4 separate regions of the Homo sapiens genome follow, and regions 1, 2 and 4 are each linked to region 3. The links are contacts of gene promoters, found by promoter capture Hi-C in blood cells and fetal thymus (Javierre and others, 2016). All regions are on one chromosome and are shown on one strand. Each heading gives the region's core, a stretch centred on a gene start or on the middle of the fragment in contact. The rest is flanking DNA. Distances are from core to core; before and after follow the strand shown. Region 1 has its middle 3.6 kb from the start of LINC02733. Region 2 has its middle 14 kb from the start of ASRGL1. Region 3 holds the start of FADS1 (fatty acid desaturase 1). Region 4 holds the start of SCGB1D4 (secretoglobin family 1D member 4).

What was found. Contacts are between HindIII fragments. The CHiCAGO score rates a contact against its expected background, and 5 or more counts as called.
Region 1: a fragment that was not itself captured here is called in contact with the fragment with the promoter of FADS1 in region 3 in 10 of 17 cell types (neutrophils, naive CD4 T cells, endothelial precursors and 7 more); the score reaches 15.1 in neutrophils.
Region 2: a contact is called between a fragment that was not itself captured here and the fragment with the promoter of FADS1 in region 3, in 1 of 17 cell types (naive B cells). The highest score is 5.2, in naive B cells.
Region 4: the fragment with the promoter of SCGB1D4 here is called in contact with the fragment with the promoter of FADS1 in region 3 in 13 of 17 cell types (total CD4 T cells, total CD8 T cells, non-activated CD4 T cells and 10 more); the score reaches 12.5 in total CD4 T cells.

Annotation. Positions count from the first base shown.
Region 1 is chr11:62,084,144-62,087,796 of GRCh38, reverse strand. No RefSeq gene overlaps it. Among named protein-coding and RNA genes, the nearest start is that of LINC02733, 3.6 kb to the right of the region's middle. The HindIII fragment of the contact is 4,419 bases long and covers 1-3,653 here.
Region 2 is chr11:62,321,396-62,324,976 of GRCh38, reverse strand. No RefSeq gene overlaps it. Among named protein-coding and RNA genes, the nearest start is that of ASRGL1, 14 kb to the left of the region's middle. The HindIII fragment of the contact is 2,302 bases long and covers 267-2,568 here.
Region 3 is chr11:61,815,542-61,818,759 of GRCh38, reverse strand. It overlaps FADS1 (fatty acid desaturase 1), which reads left to right and starts at 1,757. Exons shown (of 12, transcript NM_013402.7): 1 at 1,757-2,205. The coding sequence starts at 1,831. LOC124902680 (a long non-coding RNA gene) reads right to left here and starts at 740. Exons shown (of 2, transcript XR_007062696.1): 1 at 1-740. It also overlaps a transcript of FADS2 not described here. RefSeq lists silencers at 1,396-1,495, 1,836-2,035 and an enhancer at 2,556-3,218. The HindIII fragment of the contact is 2,548 bases long and covers 191-2,738 here.
Region 4 is chr11:62,297,648-62,301,371 of GRCh38, reverse strand. It overlaps SCGB1D4 (secretoglobin family 1D member 4), which reads left to right and starts at 2,297. Exons shown (of 3, transcript NM_206998.2): 1 at 2,297-2,416; 2 at 3,714-3,724. The coding sequence starts at 2,362. The HindIII fragment of the contact is 1,500 bases long and covers 1,626-3,125 here.

The DNA of each region.
Region 1 (3,653 bases), core at 508-3,007, 270 kb before region 3:
GCCACAAGATTAGAAGTTATGGTAATTTTACTAAGTAATTCCAGATGTAGCTATTTTTGTTAAACAATATCAATGTCTTGTTTATTAAAGATCGGCAAGCAAGAATCATTCTGTTTTGGGCTGGGTTTATGGTTTTGTAACCCCTGTGCCAAATTTTGACACCTTATAGTATTTGGCTAGGATAAGTATGAAATTGCTAGATTAATAAATGCAAATAAAATGTATGCTGGAAATTCTTAAGACATTTCTAATATTATTTTACCAATAATTTTAAAGCTAGCTTACTTATTAAAGATTTTACTTAAGTCATGTAAACTTGAAAAATAATTTGACTAGTTTTTCCTTTTTCTGATAAAGTATTTTATTTCAATGCTTTTATTTTTCTTTAAGCCAATTAATTAGACCTCTTTTATATATTTTTGGTAGTGAAACATTGTGTATACAACACATAAATACATAGATGTATTAGGAATGCCAATAGAAATACATCTTATAGGTTGGGTGCAGTGGCTCACGCCTATAATCCCAGCACTTTGGGAGGCTAACATGGGTGGATCACCTGAGATCAGGAGCTTGAGACCAGCCTGACCAACATGGTGAAACCCCACCTCTACTAAAAATACAAAAAATTAGCCGGGCATGGTTGTGGGCTCTTGTAATCCCAGCTACTCAGGAGGCTGAGGCAGGAGAACTGTTTGAACCTGGGGGATGGAGGTTGCAGTGAGCCAAGATCGTGCCACTGCATTCCAGCCTGGGCAACAGAGAGAGACTCTGTCTCAAAAAAAAAAAAAAAAAAAAAAGGCCAGGCGCAGTGGCTCATGCTTGTAATCCCAGCACTTTGGGAGGCTGAGGTGGGCAGATCACGAGGTCAGGAGTTTGAGACCAGTCTGGCCAACATAGTGGAACCCTGTCTCTACTAAAAATAAAAAAAATTATCTGGGTGTGGTGGCGGGCACCTGTAATCCCAGCTACTTGGGAGGCTGAGGCAGGAGAATCGTTTGAAGCTGGGAGCGGAGGTTGTAGTAAGCCATGATTGCGCCACTGCACTCCAGGCCAGTGGACAGTGCGAGACTCCATCTCAAAAAAAAAAAAAAAAAAAAAAAAAAGAATTACATCTTATAGACTTAATAAACACACCTTTTTTTTTTTTTCCTATCTTAGACTTTCAGATACTTGATAACCTGTTTCACAACACTAGGCAGTTGTCAGTTAAATAGCCTTAAATGTGCATATTAAAGGAAAGAACTCAGCTGAAAATCAAATAGAAAAATTTACATCATAAGGTACAGAGAGTAAAAGTCTGGTGGTGCTAGAGGAAGATTAAAGATGGATGCCAAATTGAACATAAAATTATAGAAATCTATCATAGGATTGTATAAGGGGATCAATTTTATTTAGATAGGGCCTACTTATCTTTTAACTGGATCTCTGAGCTCTGGGAAAGCCCACGTTGAATCTTGGGTCTCCAAAAAGGGAGAATTATTATGAGGTTAGACCATGTGATGCTTTTACTGTACACTTAAAAAACATTTTTTTTCGACAAAGACATTTCCAAGTGTCTAAACCACACTTTTCCTCAAAAACCCAAAAGTAAGGCCAGGCACAGTTCCTCATGCCTACAATCCCAGCACTTTGGGAGGCCGAGATGGGTGAATTGCTTGAGCCCAGGAATTCAAGACCAGCCTGGGCATTAGAGTGAGACTGCATCCCTACCAAAAAAAAAAAAAAGAATTAAATAAAATAAAAAGAAGGGATGCAGGCCTGATAACACCTTGGTTTTTAGCTCATAAAGACCCATTTTGGACCTCTGACCCCAGAACTATAAGATAATAAATGTGTGGGGTGGTTTTGGTTTTTGGAATTTTTTTCTTTTTCTTCTTTCTTTCTTTATTTTTTAGAGACAAGGTCTCACTGTGTTGCCAGGCTGGTCTCAAACTCCTGAGCTCAAGCAATTTTCTCACCTCGGCCCCCCAAAGTGCTGGGATTACAGGCATGCACCACTGAGCCCAGCCTTGTGTTGTTTTAAACCACGAAATTTGTGGTAATTTGTTTCAACAACCATAGGAAATTATTTCACCCACCCTGCTTGTTTGTTTTCTCTTTCTGCTGTCTGAAGTTTCTCCCTTTCAGTTTTAGAGCTGAGAAGATCTATCAAACATGAATTTGGCCACAAGCTGACTCTTTCTCTAGGGGTAAATCTTGACCATTTACTAAAATGGGGAAAACAGATCAGTAATGACAGGAGTGAAGAGAAGGCTAGCTAGTGTATGTCCAGTGCTTTGTAAAGTTGCAAGGCTTTTTTCCTAAACCACACATATCCCACATATACACCTAAAAACCTAACACTACAAGGCCATACATGAATTGCCAGAATTATACAGACCTTTTCTGAAATGGTTATAACCTGAATGGTATAAGCATTGGACAAAAACACGTTGAAATCTGAGATCTCTGCAGTTGTATCCCCACAATATTTGAAGAAATAATTTATTGCCAGGCATGATGGCTCACGCCTGTAATCCCAACACTTTGCGAGGCCAAGGCGGGCGGATCACGAGGTCAGGAGTTCGAGATCAGCCTGGCCAATATGGTGAAACCCCGTCTCTACTAAAAATACAAAAATTAGCCAGGCATGGTAGTGGGAGCCTGTAATCCCAGCTACCTGGGAGGCTGAGGCAGGAGAATTGCTTGAACCCGGGAGGCGGAGGTTGCAGTGAGCCGAGATCACGTCACTGCACTCCAGCCTAGGTGACAGAGTGAGACTCCATCTCAAAAAATAAATAAATAAATAAATAAATAAATAAATAAATAAATAAAATAAATATGATTGGGTACGATCTAACACTAACAGGCTGAATGGGGAAACCCAACAAGGCCCATCTGATCAGATTCTTCTTGGTCTCTCTGTGCAGCATTCCTTCCAGGGAATAGGGCAGGACCTGTCTGAAATGAGGGTATTGTGACCTACAATCAAAGTAGGCCAGAGAATTTCCTCATGACCAGCTCCTAGACAGAAAGATAGGAAAAGAAGCAGGTAAAAGGTGGGGAGAAAAAAGGAGCAGGTAAAAGGTGGGCAGGAGAAGGTCAGAGAGAGAGAGAGAGATTCTGTTTCCTGAAGCCTGCTTGTGAGAACTAAAGTGCCCTAACATTATAACAGAAACTGTAATAACAAGAGCTATGGGAGTTATAAGCCAAGAATCATGGGTGAAAACATTTTATATATATATATATGAAAGACATATATATGTTTATAACACATATGTATATGAAATGCATACATATATGAGACACACATATATGTTTTTTCATCCATGGTTCTTGGTTTTATATAAATATCACAACATGTATTTTCAAAAGTGTGAAGCAATTGAAATTCTCCTACTTGAGGACCATAAATAGTTTAATCACTTTATTTTATTTATTTATTTATTTATTTATTTTAGACAGAGTCTCGCTTTGTTGCCCAGGCTGGAGTGCAACAGTGCAATCTCTACTCACTGCAACCTCTGCCTCCCAAGTTCAAGCAATTCTCGTGCCTCAGCCTCCCAAGTAACTGGGATTACAGGCGCCTGCCACCACGCCTGGCTAATTTTTGTATTTTTAGTAGAGACGGGGTTTCACCATGTTGGCCAGGCTGGTCTCAAACTCCAGAC
Region 2 (3,581 bases), core at 168-2,667, 510 kb before region 3:
ACCTGTAATTTCCTCTTCTCACTCAGTAGTATATCTTGGACACCATTCTGTCTCAGCGCTATCGGTGGTTGTTTAGATTGTTTGCGATCTTAGCAAATGTAAACATATTTGTGATGGTCATGACGGTACCCACATTGCCCGGAGCCAGGGCTGTTTATAGAAATCACTCTTCATCTAGCCATAGGAGGCAGTCCTCACCTTCTCAGAAGGAGAACTGACTTACCTGGCTCTGGAAGTGGGCAGCGGGCTAGAGGGCACGTAAAGCTTTGCCTCTTCTTGGCTCTCCCAGCGGCTGGCCTGCCTTCAGGGTTAAGTCTTTTCCTCCTGCGACCTCTGGGGTATAATCTGCTGCAATTGTTAGAGCACTGCTGAAGGTAGGTAAGAGAGTTATTCTCATTTTCCACGTGCATGCATCCTCTGCTCTGCCCTCTGCACGTTTTTGTTTGTTTGTTTTGTTTTTTGTTTTTTTGACGGAGTTTCACTCTTGTCGCTCAGGCTGGAGTGCAATGGCGTGATCTCGGCTCACTGCAACCTTCGCCTCCTGGGTTCAAGTGATTCTCCTGCCTCAGCCTCCCGAGTAGCTGGGATTACAGGCGCCCGCCACCACGCCCAGATATTTTTTGTATTTTTAGTAAAGACAGGGTTTCACCAGGTTGGCCAGGCTGGTCTCGAACTCCTGACCTTGTGATCCACCCGCCTCGGCCTCCCAAAGTGCTGGGATTACAGGCGTGAGCCACCGCGCCCGGCCCTGGATTTTATATTTTTAAATGGTTAAAAAAATCAAAAGAAGAACAGTACTTTCTGACACATGGAAATTATGTGAAATCAAATTTCAGGGTTCAGAAATAAAGTCTTCTTGGGAAACAAACATATTTATATGAAAGGAAATCCAGGATGGAAATGGCTATGTCAGAGGCATCTAAAAAGTTGGTGGGTGGGTAGGAAGAGTTGGACCCAGGCCTATACACACCCAGACAGAATGTCACCTGTGGAACTGGGCCAAACTGTAAACATCCTGAAGAAGCAGGTACATTTAGTTTAACCTATTTATATTGGGCCTGATCACAAATCTCCTGGGGAGAGAGCTGTGCCAACATAAGCTGATCATCAGCTAGAGACATTCTAAGCTGTCAATCAATCACCATTAATCATAGACCATGCTAAGTTGTCCCACTTGTGTAAATTTACAGTAAACCTCTAAAACTCCTGCTCAACCTCACTTGGAGGGAACATGATTTAGCTGCTTGCTAGATTTGTGTCTCCCGCATTGCAATTCCTCTCTTGTTTGCTGCCCTGCAGGGTTTTTTTTTTTTTTTTGGTCGGGGGAGACGGAGTCTCGCTTTGTCCTCAGGCTGGAGTGCAGTGGCATGATCTAGGCTCACTGCAATCTCTGCCTCCTGGGTTCAAGTGATTTCCCTGCCTTAGCCTCTTGAGTAGCTGGGACTACAGGCGTGCACCACCATGCCCAGCTAATTTTTTGTATTTTAGTAGAGACAGGGTTTCACCATGTTGGCCAGGATGGTCTCGATCTCCTGACCTCATGATCCACCAGCCTCAGCCTCCCAAATTGTTGGGATTACAGGCATGAGCCACCATGTCCAGCCCTTATTTCTCATTAGTTGACACTCATTTGTTTGTTACATATTGTCTCTGGCTGCTTTCACCCTAGAGTGGCAGGGTTGAGTAGCTGGAACAGACGATGGTGGCCTACAAAGCCTCACATATTTTCTTCCTGGCCCATTGCAGAAAGTTTGTTGATCCTGAGTTAGGCGATTGACACTTTTCTTTCTTCTACACTTATTAGCCTTTCCAGAAGTATGTGTAATGAGAGGAGGATTCTCTCCTTTGCATGTTGGTCTAGCTAGTTGATTAGCTATTTGATCTAGCTAATGGTGTAGCTAATTAGAGATGGCAGGTAGTTAGCAAACATTTTACTTAGATTATCATTTAGACCTCCATTACTGTAGAGCTGTGTAGAGCAGTGTATTAGTTGGGGTTCTCTAGAGAGACAGAACCAATAGGAGATTATATATAACTATATGTTTGTATAAATATATAGGGGGATTTGTTAGGGGAATTGGCTTATGTGAGGATGGAGGCTGAGAAGTCCCATGGCAGGCCAGCTGCAAGCTGGAGAACCAGGGAAGCCTGAAGCGTGTCTCAGTCCAAGCCCAAAGGCCTGAGAACCAGACAAGTTGATATTGTGAAATGGAAGTCTGAGGCTGAAGGCCTGAGAAACTGGGAGGCAGCTGATGTATGTTCCAGAGTCCAAAGGCCAGAGAACCTGAAGTTCCTATTGCCTAGGGCAGGAGAAGAAGGGTGTCCCAGCTCCAGCAGAGAGACAGCAAGAGCAAATTCACCCTTTGTCTGCCTTTCTGTTCTACGTGGGCCCTCAGCTGATTGGGCCCACACTGGGTGAGGGTGGATCTTCCCAGTGATTCAAATGCCAACCTCTTCTGAATACACCCTCACAGACACACCCACAGATAGTGGTTTACCAGCTATCTGGGTATCCCTTAATCCAGTCAAGCTGACACCTGAAATTAACCTTCACAAGCAGGGAAAGCTTAAAATGAAGCCTGAGTGTTCCATTCCTGTGCATCTTAGGGTCAAGGGCCCGTGCTGAAATTCCTGTGCCGAGTGTCTGCCTGGGGTGACCCTGGCAGCCTCACTTGCTTCTTCTGAGCTGGACTAACATTGTTATCCTCCCTATGCTCAAATAAATCTAGACCATTCTCTTCCAGGAGCCACTCTAGAATATGTTCCTTTCAATTGATTAATGAGAAGAAATAATGTATGTGAAAGTACTTTATGAGATGTAGAATAGAATAATATATTGGACATGATTATTATTTTATAAAATAGTCTTGGCTGAGTTCATTTAATTTGCCTGACACACCCTGGAGCAGCCTTTCCAGCCACCAGCTGATGTCTTCCTCCAGGTTATCCTGGGCTCCTTCTCTGCTGCTCGTGTTGTGTTCTGCCCTTTGGACAAAGAAGGGTGTGCTTGCTGACCCAGAGCTGCCTTTCCTTGTTGGCATTCCTGTTGTTTTATTTTTGTTTTTGTTTGTGTTTCTTTGTGAGATGGAATTTTGCTCTTGTTGCCCAGGCTGGAGTGCAATGGTGCGATCTCGGCTTAACTGCAACCTCTGCCTCCCGGGTTCAAGCAATTCTCCCACCTCAGCTTCCCAAGTAGCTGGGATTACTGGCATGTGCCACCATGTCCAGCTGATTTTGTATTTTTAGTAGCGATGGGGTTTCACCATGTTGGTCAGGCTGGTCTCGAACTCCTGACTTCAGGTGATCCACCCGCCTTGGCCTCCCAAATGTTTTACTTTTGTTAACCGAGGTCATCCTCTTTTTCTGATGGCAAACCCAGCTTCCTCCTGCCAATGTACGATGACCCAAGGAGTTGCTGTGCCTTTCGGAAAAGTGGGGAGGGGATGCAACAGAAGCTGGAGTGTCAGCAACAGAATCCTAGGCTCCTCCCCTCCTATAGGCAGGTTAACTGCAGAGCCTCCGGGAGCATGTCCAAGTATCCCGGAGGAGTCATCCTATATACCCTTTTTGGTTTCGGATTT
Region 3 (3,218 bases), core at 508-3,007:
ATGTAAAGGACCTCTCTTCTGTTATTTAATACCCATGAATTTCTTATATAGTTGTAATCAGCGAACCCATACTACTTTGGGTTCTGCTTATTTCACGGGGAAGGATTCTATATCTATCAATATAGTTCACATTCTAGCCATTTAAAATCATTCTTTAATTCTTCATTGTGTTAACAGATCCCAATAAGCTTGGCGATTTTCTTATTGTCAGGACTCGGGTTTATTTCCAGTTTTTGCTATTAAATTGGCTATTTCTGCATCTTTGCACAGTCTCCCCTACTTTACCAAGAGTGAAACTGCTTGATCAAAGAATAGAAAATGTTTTGTAGCTCGCATTAGACACTGCCAAGTTGTTGGGCAAGGTTTTTAAAAAAGGAATATTGGCTGTACAGAGGTGCAGCTGTGTGGACCATCATTCCTGAGCAGGGTCCAATAGCCTGGCATCTTACCTGGAAGTCAGGACATCTAAACTTCCCTATGGGAACTTGGTAAGCCCCTTCCCCATTTCGAACCTCAATTTTCTTATCTATAAAATGAAGAATTTGGATGGAATGAATTAATCCTTTTCTACCAGAAATCTAGCCATATTTCACCTAGTCTATTCTGTATCACCCTCTCCTGACTCCTACGTGCTCAGAATCTAGCTCAGTGCTTGGGACAGTTATGTTTCCTTTCCCTTTGAAGTGCCCAAATACCAGTGTAATGAGAAATATGGCAGAGCCTGAGAGTTCAGAGCACAGGCCAGGGTCAAATCTCAGCCCTCCACTTACAAGCTGTGTGACAAAATAACCTCCCCCGGGCTCAGTTTCTTCACTGTAAATTAGGTTAATTGTTCCAACCTCATAGGGTTGTTAGGAGAATTAAATGAGTTAAGGTTTGCAAAACGCTAAGAACAGTGCCTGGCACACAGTAAGTGCTTTATAAAGTGTTTGTTGAATAAATAAAATTTTGGACCTAAACTCTGGGTCTCTTCAGGACTGCAACAGCTTTGTAACTGGCAACCCCACTTTTAGGTGCGTTCCCACTCCTCTAAAACCCAGAGATCTAAATGCCAAATCTCTCTGCTTAAAAAGTCTCCCAGGGCTCCTAGGCGCCTCCAGGCTAGAACAGAAATGCCTCAGCTTGAAGACCCAGGCTTTTCAGGTGAAACACCTAAGGGTCAGGAGACGCTAGGATCATCACTCAAGGATCCCAGTGAATTTTTCCAAAATACAATAAAAATAAAAACAAAAAGAGGCAAACAGGGTTATAAAAATTGTGGGGCATTTTAAATGTTTCATTGAACAAATTAAAGCATTAACAGCCCTCCCCCAACCACCACCAAGCCCAAGAGACCGTAAATATGCTGTTCACAAGATAACTGCAACTTTCAAGGGCTCTCAGGCTGCTACTTCGGGCAGCACAATTGGCGGCACGACGTGGCAAGCAGGCAGTAGTTTCCAACCCTGGAGGGTCAGCGTCTGGAGACCCCGGCCAAGGCATCCACAGCCTAAAGATGATGTCCGCGACCGCCCGGGCAGCCTCGTGCACGGAAAAACCTCAACCCCGGCCCCGCCCACCCTTCCTGCGGCCACCCCGCAGCCCTGGCCCCTCAGTCCATTCACTCCTGCAGCGCGGCCCCGCACCCAGGGCCTGCACTAGAACCGCTGTTCCTACCGCGGCGCCCCCTGGGAGCCAACGCCGCGATGCCCGCCTGACGTCAGGAAGTCGAATCCGGCGGCGACGCCTTTAGGGAGCCCGCGAGGGGGCGCGTGTTGGCAGCCCAGCTGTGAGTTGCCCAAGACCCACCGGGGGACGGGATCTCGCTCCCCGCGCCACGAGGCTCGGCCAATGGGAACGCGCGCTGCGAGGCCCGCCGGTCTGCCCTGCGGTGCTGAAAACCCGGCGCGCAGGCGGCTGGCTCTGGGCGCGCGCCAGCAAATCCACTCCTGGAGCCCGCGGACCCCGAGCACGCGCCTGACAGCCCCTGCTGGCCCGGCGCGCGGCGTCGCCAGGCCAGCTATGGCCCCCGACCCGGTGGCCGCCGAGACCGCGGCTCAGGGACCTACCCCGCGCTACTTCACCTGGGACGAGGTGGCCCAGCGCTCAGGGTGCGAGGAGCGGTGGCTAGTGATCGACCGTAAGGTGTACAACATCAGCGAGTTCACCCGCCGGCATCCAGGGGGCTCCCGGGTCATCAGCCACTACGCCGGGCAGGATGCCACGGTGAGCGCAGCCAGGCGGGGGCACAGGAGAGGGCGGGACCGGAGGCTGAGTGCAGGGGAGACAGAGTTACGCACTCCGAGCCAAACACCGACTAATTCGGAGGAAAGCCCGGAGGCGCCTGATCATACCTGTTGCCCGGTGATTGGGTGTCCTGCGGATGCGGGATGAAAAGGCGGGAGAGAGGCCTGGAGAAGTGGAGTCTGGGGAGTGGGGATGGAGGCCAACAACACGCACACACAAACAAAGGGTCCCGCCTCCCTGCCGTGCATTCCATCTGCAGCCCCGAGCCTCAGGTCTCTGGGCGGGGACAGAACCCCGAGCTGGGTAGGCTAGGAGGGAGGAGAGCAAGGATGCAGGCCGCCTGGGGAGGGAGGGGGTCAGTGGCCAGGGGAGGGAGTCACATCCTGTCTCGATGGCTAGGAGAGGCAGCGCAGCCGCGTCTGGACCTAGGTGCCGGTCTCCACTCGCCAGCAGGAGCGGAGAGGGAGCAGGAAAGGAGCCCATTCTCGAGGATGGGGCTGAAACGGGAAGCTTGGGGAGACCGCTGCCTTGGGGACCCCTGCGTCGTGTGAAGACTGGAGGACGCGGAAGGGACAGCGCTGGCCGGGGAGGGCAAGCGGCCGCTGGCGTACATAAGGGATTGGGAATGGCATACACTTAGCGAGGACCCCCAGAGCTGTTCTCGAATCGCCGGGGAGGCCACTGAGCCGCAGGCCAGCGAGGTCTTCAGCTATTCCGCGGAGCGGACCGCTGTTTACGCTCTGGGGCGGTAGGCCCTTCGCGGGGTCCTGTCCCTTCTTCCCTTGGTCTCACTGCGGGGTCGGCGCGCGCCCCAGCCCCAGGCCTGCTGCTTCCCTTTCTAGACCACAGCCCTCAGAGCTAAGGCCCCGGCGCCTCTCTGCTGGGTTGGAGTCCTGGGGACTCAGTCCTAGGGACTCGAAAGTCGGGGCGTTCCCTTCACCGCGTTTCCCCCTTGGCGGCCAGAATGGCGTCCCCTCCCCTTGCATCCCCCT
Region 4 (3,724 bases), core at 1,048-3,547, 480 kb before region 3:
AGCATAAAGACCTTTTCAATATACCTATAACTTGAACATATCCACTTTTAATTAAGCTGAGCACTTTTAAAGAAAATCCTTTTAAATTCCTTGTTACTTGAGATTGCTGCAAATGAGAGGTGCATGGTTCCAGCAGAGTCTATGAAGGGGAGTATTGAACAAGTCATCGGGGTCAGGCAACGATGTCCATGGATGGAAAGAATAAACTAAAATCTTGAGTCAATTGTGTAAAAAGGAGGGAGCCATAAAAAGCATCAATGATGAAAACAAAAAAACCCTGCATAGGTGTTAATCGTGGTAGGACTAATAAAAGTATACGCAAACAATCCTCTGTCAGAGATACACATGCTCCCCAATGGACTGTACAGATGACAAGGTGAATGTCAAGCCTGAGTGAGGATAAACTCTCATCCACAAAAAGGGTGGATGCTTCACAGACCTGTCTACTGCAAAAGAGGCCTCAGTCCTGAAGCCCATATTCATGGGTTTGCAGCCTCCAAGACCATGAGCTGGGTTTCCTTTTCCATTTATGTCAAAGAGAAATGGTGTATCTAGGTGTCCGTGTAGTTCTGCAAGTAGGTGATTTAGTGGATTTTGGCTGTGCTCTAAACTAGGAACTACTGGCAAACCATGACATATATGACAAATGGGACAAGATAATGGCAGTTTACATTGAGAACTACTATGTACCAGAACTTGGTATATTTTAAACACACACACACCCATGAACACACTCATTTGATCATCTATCAACCCAATGATGTAGGCACCATTAGTAGCCTACTTTGACAAATGAGAAAACTGGGGTTACATAAACTGAATAATTTTCCTAAGGTCCAGGAGCCCATAAATGAGGATCTGAACCCTCATAGCTGTAAACCTCACCACCAACCCTCCCCCTCCTTGGTGGCAGCAGGGCTGATTCAGGGACTCCGTCGTCATCCTGTGTGATGAAAGTGAGATCCACTGTTGCCCTCAGCTTGGACTCAACTAAATCTGTCAATGTGTCTTTGATGACAAAACCCGTAAGGTCCCCTTCCTTCTTAAAGGTTTTCCTGGCTGGATCTCAGCCCTGCTGTCTGTGAGAAACACCAGAGCAGTTTAAACAGTACAGAAAGGAGGGATTCACCCCAATGCTACTGAATCAAAATCGCCAGAGAGAGAAGCCTGTGGGGTCAGTATGTTTTAAAAGCTCCAAGTGATTTGACTACATAGCTGAGAATGGAAAGCTATGGCCTGGGCTGTGACTCCTCTCAAATGTAAGTTTATTTAAGAGAAAAATTTCTGGTGATTAAACTCACACCACATGAAGGCACGGCAATGGGAGGGAAGGCGGGTGTGTATTGCTTTGTCTGGGGGCTTCCTTCACTTTCCCTTAAAAATGGGATTGGCCCAGGCAGCACAGATAGGTTTGAAGTGGAAAACTTGAGCCTAGGGGTTAGGGGGAAGTGACCACCCACCCTGTTCCTCTGTCTCTTCCCTTCTATTATCTTCCCAGCCTAGAGCCCCACTGATGTATGATTGGCTCTGAACACTCCAAAAGCTCTTGAGAAAAAGAGTTAGGTTATTTAATCTTCAGATCAGCCCTAAGATAAGACGTGGGTGGCTACACATCACAGAAAGCTTGCTTTTTATAGATAGAAAATGTGAATCTTGGCCATATATATAACTGCACGTATAAACAAGATTCAGGTTTGGGAGTGAGGCAGGCTAGAGAACAGGTGCAGCAGATGTTTTTCCTCAGCATATCTTCTACAGGTGGGATGTATTCAACTATGTTTTCAGTACCTATGCAGTGAACATGGTGGTGATGGAAGGGGCTGAGGGGAAGGATTAGACTTTCCCAATGTGCAACTGAAACAAGCCTGCTTGTTGTCAGACATGCAGGGGGATCAAAGCAGGGTCTCCTTATGTCCCTGCTCTCCCATAAAGAGAACACAGCCTTCCAGCTTCCTGTGCCTTGTGAAGCCATAATTCACCTGTGCCCCTGCACTGCTACAAAGATAAAAAGAACTAATCAGCAAAAGCTCATAAGGAAATTGAGGATCCCAGGAACATTTCCAGATGTACCTGAACACTCACCTGGAGCACAGAGCAGAGTTCTCACAAGGCTGCTGTCTTGTGCTCCGCCCCACTCAGATGCAGAGATTCCTAAGGAGGTGACATTGATGGACGGCAGCAGCCCTGGCTTGGAAGGGCGGGCTGGGAGCCAGGCCTCATGACCTACCAGGTGCCCCGGTAGGTAGGACCAGCCAGGCTCCCTAGGTACAAATAGCCCTGGCCTCCATGACTACACAGGCTCCTGGAGTCGAATCCAAATCACTCATTGTGAAAGCTGAGCTCACAGCCGAATAAGCCACCATGAGGCTGTCAGTGTGTCTCCTGATGGTCTCGCTGGCCCTTTGCTGCTACCAGGGTGAGTACATCAGTCATGAGTCCAGCACCAGCCCCTGGGATGCACCCTCTTCTGAGCACAAGATCACCTATTTGTGCTTTGGGTTGGGGTCTGCACAAAACCAAACAAAATTCCAAACCCTTTTCTGTGCTTGTTGAATAAGATTCATAAAGGTTAGAGCTATTTCTTCTTTCTTCTTCCTTTTTTTTTTTTTTTTTTTGAGAAGTTTTGCTCTTGTTGCCCAGGCTGGAGTGCAGTGGCATGATCTTGGCTCACTGCAACCTCTGCCTCCGGGGTTCAAGTGATTCTCCTGCCTCAGCCTTCCTGAGCAGCTGGGATTACAGGCATGGGCCACCACAGCTGGCTAATTTTGTATTTTTAGTAGAGATGGGGTTTCTCCATGTTGGTCAGGCTGGTCTCGAACTCCCGACCTCAGATGATCTGCCCGCCTCGGCCTCCTAAAGTGCTGGGATAACAGGCATGAGCTACTGCGCCTGGCTGCTTAGAGCTATTTCTTCTAATCCCCAGTATCTAAGAAGTTTTATAGAAAAATCAGTTCAGGCAAATGTTAGGAATTCTTCTGCCTGAGCTTCACTTCTGAATGGGATCTGTGTCAGATGATGTAATGTGAGGTCTGGGGTGAACCTGGGCTTCGACACTTCCCACCCCTTGATCTTGGGCACAATGCTCACCCTCCTTGAGCCTCCTCTTATCACTGGTGGTTAAAGCTTCTGCCAGGAGTGGCTATGAGAATGAAGTAAGGTTATGGTTGTCAAGAGTCAAGCTGTGGGCCAGGCATGGTGTCTCATTCCTGTAATCTTAGCACTTTGGGAGGCCACAGTGGGCAGATCACTTGAGCTCAGGAGTTCAGCACCAGCCTGGGCAACATGGCGAAACCCCATCTCTACAAAAAAAAAAAACAAAACAAAACACACACACACACACACACACACACACACACACACAAAAGCGGGCATGGTGGCAGGCACTGGTAGTCTCAGCTACTTTGGGGGCTGAGGGAGGATCGCTTGAGCCCAAGACATTCAGGCTGCAGTGAGCCGAGATTGTGCCACTGCATTCCAGTCTGGGTGAACCTATCTCAAAAAAAAGAAAAAGAAGTCTAGCTGAGGATATGAAGCTCTTCCCTTTGTTGTGTGACCCGGAGAAAGTCACACCTGGAGTTTCTGGTATTGTCATCAGCACAATAATGGTATAGAAACATAGAACCCAGGGGATCCTGTCTGGTGTAACCTCAGGGAGCCATGAGAGAAAAATCGACTTTCCTAACATCAACAATATTTTTATTTTTGTGCTGCAGCCCATGCTCTT